Linked DNA regions of Homo sapiens: all the other regions are linked to region 3. The links are contacts of gene promoters, found by promoter capture Hi-C in human tissues and cell types (Jung and others, 2019). All regions are on one chromosome and are shown on one strand. The core of a region is centred on a gene start or on the middle of the fragment in contact, and the rest is flanking DNA. Distances in the headings are between cores, read along the strand shown.

What was found. The method cuts DNA at HindIII sites, captures the fragments that hold promoters and counts their contacts. A contact is called where the count stands out against the background at its distance.
Region 1: a fragment that was not itself captured here is called in contact with the fragment with the promoter of NOP58 in region 3 in 1 of the 25 tissues and cell types used here (aorta).
Region 2: a contact is called between the fragment with the promoter of MPP4 here and the fragment with the promoter of NOP58 in region 3, in 1 of the 25 tissues and cell types used here (H1 embryonic stem cells).
Region 4: a fragment that was not itself captured here is called in contact with the fragment with the promoter of NOP58 in region 3 in 1 of the 25 tissues and cell types used here (liver).

The regions. Positions count from the first base shown.
Region 1 is chr2:202,841,808-202,844,886 of GRCh38, reverse strand. The region is part of intron 1 of ICA1L (islet cell autoantigen 1 like); the gene reads left to right. It also overlaps the pseudogene KRT8P15. Among named protein-coding and RNA genes, the nearest start is that of ICA1L, 28 kb to the left of the region's middle. The HindIII fragment of the contact is 3,353 bases long and covers 1-3,079 here.
Region 2 is chr2:201,697,133-201,700,250 of GRCh38, reverse strand. It overlaps MPP4 (MAGUK p55 scaffold protein 4), which reads left to right and starts at 1,607. Exons shown (of 22, transcript NM_033066.3): 1 at 1,607-1,664. RefSeq lists enhancers at 1-475, 476-977. The HindIII fragment of the contact is 2,902 bases long and covers 1-1,949 here.
Region 3 is chr2:202,264,316-202,267,410 of GRCh38, reverse strand. It overlaps NOP58 (NOP58 ribonucleoprotein), which reads right to left and starts at 1,648. Exons shown (of 15, transcript NM_015934.5): 1 at 1,425-1,648. The coding sequence starts at 1,469. The HindIII fragment of the contact is 22,419 bases long and covers 1-3,095 here.
Region 4 is chr2:203,019,678-203,023,005 of GRCh38, reverse strand. The region is part of intron 2 of NBEAL1 (neurobeachin like 1); the gene reads right to left. Among named protein-coding and RNA genes, the nearest start is that of NBEAL1, 6.5 kb to the right of the region's middle. The HindIII fragment of the contact is 6,368 bases long and covers 1-3,328 here.

The DNA.
Region 1 (3,079 bases), core at 184-2,683, 580 kb before region 3:
GTCTGACAACTTTATTTTAGGACTCTGACCTCCAGAATGGGAAGACAGTAAATTAATTTTGTTGTAAGTTACTAAGTTTGTGATCATTTTTTATAGCAGCAGTAGGAAATTAATACACAGGGAATATATCTTTCTCATTCTTGACGTTTCCTCCTATGTTAAAGGAGCTCAATTAGTTTAACTCCTAGTCTCTCTCTACCCTCTCATTTCTTTCTAGAGGAGGAGTGGCTTGTCTGGTAAATTTGGGAAGCAAAAATTGGGCAAGTTTATCTCAATTCCTTCTTTCTTCTCTCATACAGGGAAGCCTCTGGTGATTCAGTTACCTCTGACTGGCTTGTTGAATTTAATTTTAGTGCTCGGTTATGAAGATTATTTGGCTCTCACAGTAAGCTATATCCAGAAACTTGACCATTGTCAGTAGCAAAAATTATATGTTGGCCTCCAGCTGCTACTCCTTATTTGTTTATTTTTTATTTTTTTAATTTTAATTTTCTTTTTTTATAGATTTTTTGAGATGGGGTCTCACTGTGTCCCTCTGGCTGTAGTGCAGTGGCACATTCATAGCTCACTACAGCCTCAAACTCCTGGGCTCAAGTGATCCTCCCACTTCAGCATCCCAGGTAGCTGGGACTACAGGCATATGCCACAATGTATGGCTAATTTTTTTATTTTTGGTAGAGATGGGGTCTCACTTTGTTGCTGAGGCTGGTACACCAATCCTTTGACACAGCAAATCCAATTCTGGATTTTTATCCAAGAGAAATGAAAACATTTTTCTGCAAAAATACTTGTATAGGTATGTTCATAACAGCCTTATTTACAATAGTCCCAAACTGGAAACACTGGTATATTGATACAATGGAATTCTATTCAACAATCAAAAAGAATAAACTGGGAAAAGCTAAGGAAAAAAAACACATTCATTGCTTCTGATAAGGTAGGGATTGGCAAGAAAGTGATACAAGGAAACTTTCTGGGAAGTTGGAAATGTTCTATATAAGATATCCATTTGTCAAAAGTATACAGCTAAAGAGTTTGCACCCTGGGCCCTAGAGCCAAGCTCTTGCTGTGTGTGGCTGAACGCTGGGTACCAGCTCTGCTGCCACAGAGATCTTGGCTTTACCCCAATCCTAGAGCTACTCTAATGCTGCACTCACTAGTGCTCTTATTCTCAGTTCTCTTAGCTGTTTAACAAGCATCTGCATCTCGCATTCTGTTACACAGCAGCAAGGATCCCTGCATCCCAGACACCAATGCCATTACTACCTGGGAACTCAGAACTGCAGTACCTCCACACATTTGTGCATCAGGCCTGAGTTCTGTGATTATTCCATGGGTGCTACTCATCAGGCACCAGTGCCAAGAGGGATCCCTTCAGCCATAGCTTCTCTGATGGGAAAAAAAATAGATTGGGGTGATCTTAGCAGTCATTGCCACCAAAGACCCCAACAACTCTTGCGCCACTGCAGAAACTCAGAACGTTGGTTGCTATGGATCCCTGTGATTTTTATCCATACCAATCTCAGCAGACAGAGCTGCACAGAGACCACACAGCTGGCACCCTGACTAGTGCCAGAACCACTGCACCCCACCCCATGGAGGAAAGTCAGTCCACAATGAAACTAGCCCATAAAGTCTACAAAAGGTAACTGTTCCACTAAGAGCACAGACATTAATGTAAGGCAACAAGAAAAATGGGAGACATAATACCACCTAAAAAACATAACCTCCCAGTAGCTGACCCCAAAGAAATGGACATATATAAACTGCCTCTCAAATAATATAAAATAATTGCTTTAAGTTTAGTGAATTTAAAGAAAAATACAGAGAAACATTTCACTGAAATCAGCAAAACAATAGATGACCAAAATAAGAAATGTAACAGATTAAAATTATTTTTTTAAAAAAATCAAATTCTGGAGCTGAAAAATACAATTAATGAACTAAAAAATGCAGTAGAGAGCATTAACAGCAGACTTGATGAAGCAGAAGAATTAATATGTGAACTCAAAGACAGATTATTTCAAAACATACAGTCAGAGAAGAAAAAATGAAGCTTAGAAGATTTAAAGCTTATAAGATTTTCTCAAAAGAGCAAATATCCTAGTTATAGGAGTTTAAGCAGAAGAAGAGAGGGACAAAGGACCAGAAAGTTTACTTAAATAAATAATAGCAGAAAAATTTCCAAATCTGAGGAAAGGTATAAATATCCAGGTATGAGAAGGTCAAAGGTCTCCAATCAGATTCAACCTGAACAAGATTACACTAAGATATAATCAAACTGTCAAAAATCAAAGATGAAGAGAGCATCCTGAAAGTAGCAAGAGAAAAGCAAATCACATACAAAGGAGTTCCAATAAGGCTAGAAGTGGATTCTCAGGAGAAACCTACAGGCCAGTAGAGAGTGGGATGATAAATTCCATGTGCTGAAGGAAAAAATAAAACTGTCAAACAACAATACTTTACTTGACAAAGTAGACCTCCAGAAATGATGGAGATAAAAGCTTTCTCAAACAAAAACTGAGGTAGTTCATCACCACCAGATGTGTCTTACAAGAAATGATAAAGGGAGTTCTTCAAGCTGAGAGGAAAGGATGCTAATGAGTAACACAAAAACATCTAAAAGTATAAAACTCATTGGTACAATTACACAAATTTAGAATAATAGTATAATGGTGGGTCTTTAATATGAATGTTAAAAAACAAAACTATTAAAAATAATGGCTGCAATAGGCCTGGTGCGGTGGCCCATGCCTGTAATCCCAGCACTTTGGGAGGCTGAGGCAGGCAGATCACCTGAGGTCAGGAGTTCGAGACCAGCCTGGCCAACATGGTGAAACCTCGTCTTCACTAAAAAAAAATACCAAAATTAGCTGGGCCTGGTGGTAGGTGCCTGTAATCCCAGCTACTCGGGAGACTAAGGCAGGAGAATCACTTGAACCTGGGAGGTTAAGGAGCCAAGATCATGCCACTGCACTCCAGTCTGGGCAACAAGAACAAAACTCTATCTAAAAAAAAAAAAAAAATAGACCAAGAAGCAGCTTCCCTGCTCCTTCTGGGATCTCCATCTGGTTCAGCC
Region 2 (3,118 bases), core at 358-2,857, 570 kb after region 3:
TTTCCTCCTAAACAGATCGAGGGAAGGGAAGGTGAGGCTTTAAAATTCTGCTTAGAAACGTTAGATATTAATTATCTCCCAGTTGTAATGTTTTCTCAAGAGGCCTTTCCATCTTGTTGCTGCCTCTACCAGAATGTGCCTGTCCTCTGTTGGAAGGGGACCAACCCTTAAAAATCCGTTTATGTTAAATACTTTGCATTTACATTGGAGATTGTTTTGAGTTTCTGAACAAACACATAAATAACCACATTTGCCTGGTAAAGCCAAATTTACAGAATTTCTGACTCTGGGCGGGGGTGGATAATATGTGGAAATGGACAAACAAAAACTTTGAGACAAATTGACCCATTGAGAAGATTTCCAATGATGATAGGCTGTCTCTGTTCTAAGAAAAGCCATGTTACAATTCGTCCTTTTACTGGAGTCTTGAATGAAACTGTTCAGTTACTTTGGATTCTTCCTACTATATGCTTTTCAGATAGCATATTAAAGTTATAAATTTTGAAGTGTATTGGAAGAAAAACCCTAAATCTCCAGGCCAATGTTTGTAAATAGAAGTCCTTGGCACTCCTGCAGCAGTTTACAATGGTCATTCACATGCGTAATGAATGCTTACAGCAGCCCAAGGATGCAGGTGTTATCCCCATTTCCCCCCATTTTTCAGACAAGCAGTGACCAAGATTTGCTCACTGCCAGAGCTGGGACTCCAGCCTAGAACTTCCCTACTCCCTACTTCCCTAGAAGTCCAGTGCTTTTTGCTACTACAGCTGCCAGAGATGTCATTTCATAGCTGGTTATGTATTGAAAGTTCTTAAAAGTGAGTTAAAAATGAAAATCTTATTGAAATCAAGTGCTTTTCACAAAATATGCTGTACTCAAAACACAAATGTATCACATTCCCAACTTGTGTTTTCATCTATGATGGAGAGATAAGGAAAGCCATGTGATTAATATGGGTAGAAGGGCTGAGGACCCTCTGATAATTGCCATTTGGTCTCTACCTTTTGCCTTGCTGTCAGCAATACCTTCCTCTCCTTTCTGCAATATCCCCTTCCAAATGCTCTCCCCACTGAGCACTCCCTGCAGTATTAAGTTTTCAGATAAAGAAGTAGCTCCTATCTGAGACAGAAAGCACTATTTGTTAGGTTCAGAACAGTGGCTTGGGAGGGGATTGACCAGAAGGTACTGTTTTTGATGGGTTTCTATTATTAGCTGAACAGTCTTCAGTTGTTTTCTCACCATAACATGAGAGATTTAATAAGGTTAGTAGGTTATTGGCTTATTTCCGGTCCTGCCACATTTTTTTCTTTCATTAAAAATGCTATCTTCTGTTGTGGAATGTCTGTCATCTTGAACTAATCAACAAAAATACTATGTTTTTCTGCCGTTAACTATGTGTTGGCAATTTGAGAGAAAATACTAGAATGTAGGTTTGAAAATGATACAAATTAGACTTCAAGGAATACTTAAGAAGATTTGTGGCAGGAAAGGCTTGTGAGTAATTTAGTTGTTAGGCTGGGTTAGGCATCTGTGGATTACATCAAAGAGGATGTGCAGAGATTTTATCGGGAGCAGTGAGGTGACTTTGGCAGCTAACAGGCCACTAGTATCCTACTAAAGCTTTTGTCTGGATAGGAGCAACATGCATGTTTACAGTCTTGCAGGTAAGAGACCTTGGCAAATAATCCTCAGTTACCAGAAGATGTATCCATAACTGCCTAGCTTGCCTGTCAGTTTTTAATAGCTAAAGATATAAATCTGGGTAATCTAACTCAAATGGCTTAGTTTCATTTTAACTCAAATGATATGGGGAATTTTATGATCTTGAAAGAGCAGGTTTTGCTTCGAGAAGCCATTTCTTCAGTATGGAATAATGAGTTGTCAGGAAGATTGAGTACAATGGGCATTTGCCCTGGTCCTAATCAACAGCATTTGGACCCAGAGGAAGCCAGCTATTTTTGTAAGGGCCATTTCTCATCATTAAGTTTCCAAGTGCTTTTTTAGGGTTTGTCTAGTAAAAAGCACTATTTTGAAAAACAAGCATAGTAAGGGTAGGGGGTTGTGGCATTTAATAGTACGTTTTAAAAAGCTAATGGAAATACTTTTAAAACAAGATTTAGGACAAATTCCTTAGGCATCAGTCACACTAATGCATCTTCTGAGTCAAGAACTGGCTATCCTTTCTGTGTACTCAGTCCGGAATTGCATGTGGTGGGTGCTTACTTATTTGCAGTCTCAATCAAGAATTCTCACTCTCAAGATAGCAGAAATAGATAAGCTTCAACTGACAAATTTGGTACAGAAGTCATGGAAAGGAAGGTAAGTCTTTTGCCAGGCATCATGCCAGGCATCAGCATCTTTCAGGACTAAGGAAACAAAAGAGGAAAACTCGATTTTACTACATGTTAACTCTACTGAATACCTCCTTGAATGTCAGATTCCTTATCTGTAAAACAAAGGTTTTGCATTTGATTATCTCTAAGATCCGCTTCTGCCCCCAGTTTTAAAGTTTGATAGGGAAAGAGGTTTAAGTCAGGATACCAGGCCAGGGAGGAAAGGAAGGGAGGGCACAGGCCTCTGGAGTTCAGCTGCCTCCCCCATTAGGATTGAAGTCCCAGCTGCTGGCTACTGCCTTGAGGGAGGTATCAGCCTTTTACTTCTGGATCTTGGCCTCTCCTTGTTCTACCCCTTCCCAACAACAACTGAACATACCAAGTGCTTGCTATGGCCCAAGCACTGTTGCAGGTGAAGCTGCAGCATGAACAAGATAAGCAACATCTCTGCTCCCCAGGCCCTCTGCAGACATGACACCTGCGGGAGACAGACACTGAGCAAGCCAGTGGATACAAGAACTGGGAAAATGAGAAGTGCTATGAGGGCAAGAAGTTGCAACTGTTTTCTTAGCTACCTGGAGGGAGGGAAAATCATTTTCTGGAAGTTTTTTTCTATGAGTTTTGTCTTAGCTTTGGCTGTCATAACAAAGTACCATAGACAGTGGCTTAAACAACAGAAATGTATTTTCTCATACAGTTCTGGAGGCTGGAAGTTGAAGATTGGGATGCCAGCATGGTTGGGTTCTTGCGAGGGTTCTCTTCCTGGCTTTCAGATGGCCGCGTTT
Region 3 (3,095 bases), core at 399-2,898:
TTATTGGTTTTCTTAAAAATAACATTTGACGTATCAAATGCAAACTGCGTATTTTCAAATGTCAGAAGTGAAACATGGAGAACTCTGCACCCATCCAGACTTTCTTGCATCCACACCACAAATGGTTTTTTGGTTCATAGCTAAAATTGTATTACATTTATTTTTACCTAGCGTTTTTGCTTTCTACCAACATATATATATGTAGAATATACATAAAAACTTTATTTTTCATTGCTATATTCACAGACCTCAGAAGAGTTGCACCGCACAAGAAAAGGCACTCAATCTCACTCATTCTTCCTAACATCTCAACAGCATCTTGCGATACGAATGTCTTACCATTCAACCATTTCAGTGCTGACGAACTTGTCAAACTTTCCCCACGAAAACAACCAAACCTCAAACTGACATCACCAGCCCAGATGTTTTCCCCTAAGCTTCAAATCTGAAATACTGAACTGCCCGATCTACACAACTGCATTATCAGGTCTAATAGACAACGCAAGCTTCGCACAGCCCAAACCGGAAATCTTTAGTCCTTCCCCAAGAAACTTTCTTAACATCTTATTTAAACCAAAACCCCACATTCAATCTATTAGCCAGTCCTTCCTGTTCTACCTTCACAATTTCTATCGATATTTGTTTCTCTCCATACCAGGCAATTTCATCTTGTCCAAATGAATGCAAAAGTATTCTTGCTGCCGTTCTTATCTCCTCGAGTCTAATCTCCACACAGCAGAGTAACCGTATTAAGACAAATTAGCAGGTCATTCCTCTGCTTAAATCCTTTCGATTGGCCGAGCACGGTGGCTCACGCCTGTAATCCCAGCACTTTGGGAGGCCGAGGCAGGTGGATCGCTTGAGGTCAGGAGTTCAAGACCAGCCTGGCCAACATGGTGAAACCCCGTCTCTACTAAAAGCAAACAAACAAACAAAAACAACTAGCCAGGCGTGGTGGTGGATGGAGGCCTGTAATCCCAGCTACTCGGGAGGCCAAGGCAGGAGAATCGCTTGAACCCGGGAGACGGAGGTTGCAGTGAGCCAAGATTGCGCCACTGCACTCCAGCATGGGCAACAAGAGCGAAACTCCATCTCAAAAAAAAAAAAAATCTTTCGATCATTCCTCAAAACATCTAGAATAAAGTCCGAATTCCCTATAATCTGTTAAATTCTAACACGCCTCCTGCCCACCCCTTCAACGGGAGGAAATAAAATCCTCTAATGCAGAACGGGTCTCCCCAAACGGCGGGGCCACGTGTTACACGTAACATGGCTCTCAGGTGTAAAGGCCTTCTCCCTCCTCCCAGAGCCCGGGCTATAACAGGCACCCACGCTACTCTGAGTAGTTCCGTGCTTAAGTCTTTCCCTCTCCTCGTCTGTCCAGCATCCGCCTTCCCCCTTTAACGGCTCGCTCTCCCACCTACCTTAAAGATGGCGTAACCCACAGACGTTTCAAACAGCACCAACATGGTGAGGCCGGGTCAGGGCGCCGCACGGCCTGCCAGAAGCTGTAGAGTCAGTTCAAAAACACCGACTACGCGGCCTCAAAAGGCCTCCTAGGCCGCGGCGGGCAAAGCACAAATGCGCTCGCCGTCCCGCAAAGAATCAGAACACGCTGCCTAAACCCTCCACGCTGTACTGGAACTAGGACGCACGAACGCGCTACTCCTTCTCTGAGGATTCTGGGATAGCAACGTCACTTCCGACAGAAGACTGCCGCAGAGATTGCCGTCACTTCCAGAATGTTCCCGCCACAGCGGGCTGGGGCGGGCCGAGAAAGTTTGTATCGCGGGATCTAGGGCCTGAACGGAGCCTTTGCGCCTTTTTTTCTTTTTTCTTTTTTTCTTTTTTGGAGACGGAGTCTCGCTCTGTAACCCAGGCTGGAGTGCAGTGGTGTGATCTCGGCTTACTGCAACCTCCGCCTCCCGGGTTCAAGAAATTCTCCTAGCCGGGCGCAGTGGCTCACGCCTGTAATCCCAGCACTTTGGGAGGCCGAGGCGGGCGGATCACAAGGTCAGGAGATCGATCGAGACCATCCTGGCTAACACGGTGAAACTCCGTCTCTACTAAAAATACAAAAAATTAGCCGGGTGTGGTTGCAGGCGCCTGTAGTCCCAGCTACTCGGGAGGCTGAGGCAGGAGAATGGCCTGAACCCAGGGGGCGGAGCTTGCAGTGAACCAAGATCCTGCCACTGCACTCCAGCCTGGGCGACAGAGCGAGACTCCGTCTCAAAAAAAAAAAAAAAAAAAGAAATTCTCCTGCCTCAGCCTCCCCAGTAGCTGGGACTAGAGGCACACACCACCACGCCCAGCTAATTTTTGTATTTTTAGTAGAGATGGGGTTTCAGCATGTTGGCCAGGATAGTCTCGATCTCTTGACCTCGTGATACGCCCGCCTCGGCCTCCCAAAGTGCTGGGATTACAGGCGTGACCCACTAGGCCCGGCCTTTTTTTTTTTTTTTTTTTTTTTTTTTTTTTTTTTTGAGACAGTCTGGCTGTTGCCCAAGCTGGAGTGCAGTGGCACTATCACGGCTCACTGCAACCTCCAACTCCCAGGCTCAAGCGATCCTCCCACTTCACCCTCCGGAGCAGCTGGGACTACAGGCCTGTGCCACCACACCCAGCTAATTTTTTGTAGAGACAGGGTTTCACGATGTTGCCCAGGCTGGTCTCGGACTCTTGACCTCAAGGGATCCTCCCACCTCGGCCTCCCAAAGTGCTGGGATTACAGGCGTGAGCCACCGCGCCCCGCCACCGCTAGAGATTTAAAGGGGAAAAACTTCACGATATTATTTTGTTAACCCTCTATGAATTATATGTTCACTTTGAGAGAAACGAGGAGCTGTTTCGGTGCCAGTCTGCCTCAGGCATCTAGAATTTGAAATGCCAGCTAGTGCCATTAGACTTTATCCCCTTTCAAGCCCTGCCTTGAGGCGAAGGCCTCAGAATGACACCATTACTGTCACTATATTTGTGAGCATTCCTGGCCGTTCCCTTCTGTCTGGCCAAATGAATTATTAGCACAGTTTTCTTTCAATAAGCCTCTCCTATTTTTGCTGCATTTGTTAAAATGACCCCAGGGTATGAATTTAGAA
Region 4 (3,328 bases), core at 364-2,863, 760 kb before region 3:
AAGGAAGTTTACTCTGAGCTCACTGCAAAACTATCTATTTCAGTCATATTCCAGATTTAGCAGGACAAAGGGCAACAGCAGGAAATGGAGCATCATCAACATCCAAAATAAATTTGGTTTAGAGTAGGGAGGACCCTCAAATCATTATTCAAGATAATTAAGCACTATCCTTGAAAGCAAAAATAAGTACAGATTTAAAATCAGTTAAGACATTCTCGGTTAAGACATTAATGAATACAGCTTCATTACTACTGATAAAATAGTAAGAGAATATTGCCCTCTATTATTATATTAATACAAGGGCAAATGGAAGTAATCCTGATACACACATGTCCACACCCACACATCTGCAAAATACTTATAAAGATTACATTTTTATCTCTCTTCCTCTTAAAATACATTTAAATAAAATCTCTTTTCTAAAAAATTTTGACAGATATGTAAAATAGTTATGTTTTTCCATTTGACAGATGAGAAAACTGAGATACAAAGAAACTAGGTTAACCTTTTAGGTCCTTAAGATCAGACACAGAATTGGGACTAAATATCACCTCTAATACTGCAGCTTCACAAAACTGTTCAGGGCAAAATTCAATCTCAATAAAATAAAATAAAATAAAAAATTTTTTAAAGCTAATGACAAAAATGAACCATGGTTTTCAATCTACACTGCCACATTTCAAAATGCTGTGCTTTTGAGTCACTTTGTATGTTTTTACTCAGTTAACGCATTTGATACTTTACACCAGACAGAACAAAAATAGCTTAATCTTATCTAAGACTTTGAGAGGCTCAGTTTCTTTTTTCTACATATTCTAGTGACCAACTAACTGCAGCACTCCCAAAAGGCTAAGTGTCTAATAGAAATACGTCCTTAAGTCTGTCCAAGGGTTGCAGTTGAGATAGGGAATTTATGATACATGTCTTTTTCTTTTTCTTTCTTTTTTTTTTTTTTGAAACAGAGTCTTGCTCTGTCGCCCAGGCTACAGTGTAGTGGCGAGATCTCAGGTCACTGCAACTTCTGCCTCCCGGATTCAAGTGATTCTCCTGCCTCAGCCTCCCGAGTAGGTGGGATTACAGGTGCCCGCCACCGTGCCTGGCTAATTTTTTTTGTATTTTTAGTAAAGACGGGGTTTCACCATTTTGGCCACGCTGGTCTCAAACTCCTGACCTCATGATCCACCCACCTTGGTCTCCCAAAGTGCTGGGATTACAGGCGTGAGCCACTGTGCCCAGCCGATACATGTCTTTTTCTACACACATATGAGTCTCAAAACTTTGTATATAATAATATAGAAACAAAAATTGTTCTCAGCACCATCTCTCTTACTGTATGTTAAAAGTGAATTATCAAAAAATACAGTGAATAACATGGTGCCTACTACATATATATAAACTAATTTTTTTTTTTTAAATGGGGTCTCACTCTGTCACCCAGGCTGGAGTGTAGTGGCACGATCTCAGCTCAATGCAACCTACACTTCCCGGGTTCAAGCAATCCTCCCACCCTATCTCCTGAGTAGCTGGGACCACAGGTGTGCACCATCATGCCTGGCTAATTTTTTTGTATTTTTGGTAGAGATGGGGTTTCACCATGTTGCCCAGGTTGGTCTCAAACTCCCAAGCTCAAGTGATCCACCTGCCTCAGCCTCCCAAAGTGTTGGGATTACAGGCATGAGCCACCACACCTGCCCTGAAATCTTTAGACATTAAAAAAAATACTGGGCTGGGCGCAGTGGCTCACGCCTGTAATCCCAGCACTTTGGGAGGCTGAAGAGGGTGGATCGCCTGAGGTCAGGAGTTCAAGACCAGCCCGGCCAACATGGTGAAACCCCATCTCTATTAAAAACAGGAGTTCAAGACCAGCCTGACCAACATGGTGAAACCCCGTCACTACTAAAAATACAAAAATTTAGCTGGGCCTGGTGGCATGTGCCTGTAAATACCAGCTACTCGGGAGGCTGAGGGAGGCAGGAGAATAGCTTGCACCCAGAAGGTTGGAGGTTGTGGTGAGCTGAGATTGGGCCACTGCACTCCAGTTTGGGCCACAGAGTGAGACTCCGTCTCCAAAACAAACAAACAAAAAACTGTATACTTAAGTACTAGTATTAAAATACTTCTATACTTAAGAAAAATACACTCAGACAAGAAGTAGTTAACTACTGAACTAAAATCCAGATACAAGATTAAACCTGTTCAAATTAATGTTTAACTTATAAGAGCTATAAGAAATGTGCTGTTAATCAAATCCTTGACCCTGGGTGGGGACAACCATTTGAAGGCAAGAAGAGTTCAGACTATATAATTTGGGGTTTTTCTTTTTTTTTTTTTTTTTGAGACAGAGTCTCACTCTGTCACCCAGGCTGGAAGGCAATGGCGTAATCTCGGCTCACTGCAACCTCTGTTTCCTAAGTTCAAGCGATTCTCCTGCCTCAGCCTCCTGAGTAGCTGGGATTACAGGTGCATGCCACCATGCCCGGCTAATTTTTGTATTTTTAGTAGAGACGGGGTCTCACCATGCTGGCCAAGCTGGTTTCAAACTCCTGATCTCAAATGATCCATCCACCTCAGCCTTCCAGTGAGCCTTACAGACATAAGCCACTGCGCCTAGGTTCAGACTATACAACTTGAATTAATAGTCTTATACACTGGTGAAAGAATCTTTAGAAAGCAGGACTGTTGGGTGATTAGAAATCATCCTGCTTGTATTATACAATAACAACATAAGGTTTACAAAGTAACCTTTTAGGAAGAAGACACATGTTTCTAACAATTTAATTAAAGCCTATTCCTAGAAGGAGAAAGTGAAGTTAGACCTGAAAAGTTTGGTAAGAAACCAAATTGCACATCACAAAGAAATGGTAAGTATGTGAGGTGACAGATATGTTAATTAGCCTGATTTGATGATTCCACAATGTATCAAAACATTACATTGTACCCCATAAATTATTATCAATTAAAATTATTATCAATTAAAATTATTTATCAATTAAAATTATCAGATAAAATTATTATCAATTAAAAATAAAATCAAATAAATTGCCAAGTTTTATACTCAAATTCTTTCAAATATTGGGACTCCATCTGCTAAAAACTGAAACTGGTAATTTATTTTAATTCTACTTAAAGGACTTTAGTCACTAGTATTTAAGCTTACAATTGAACCCAGGCAGAAGACATATATATTCCATTAGCGTTCTTTTAGCATTGCTGTGACCAAGCAGTATTACCCAAGGGTTATTTCTGAGGTAGTACTACTACTAGACCTACTGAACTTTTGCAATGTTCAGGGACAACTTTAAAACCTGACAGAAACGCTGTGATGGTA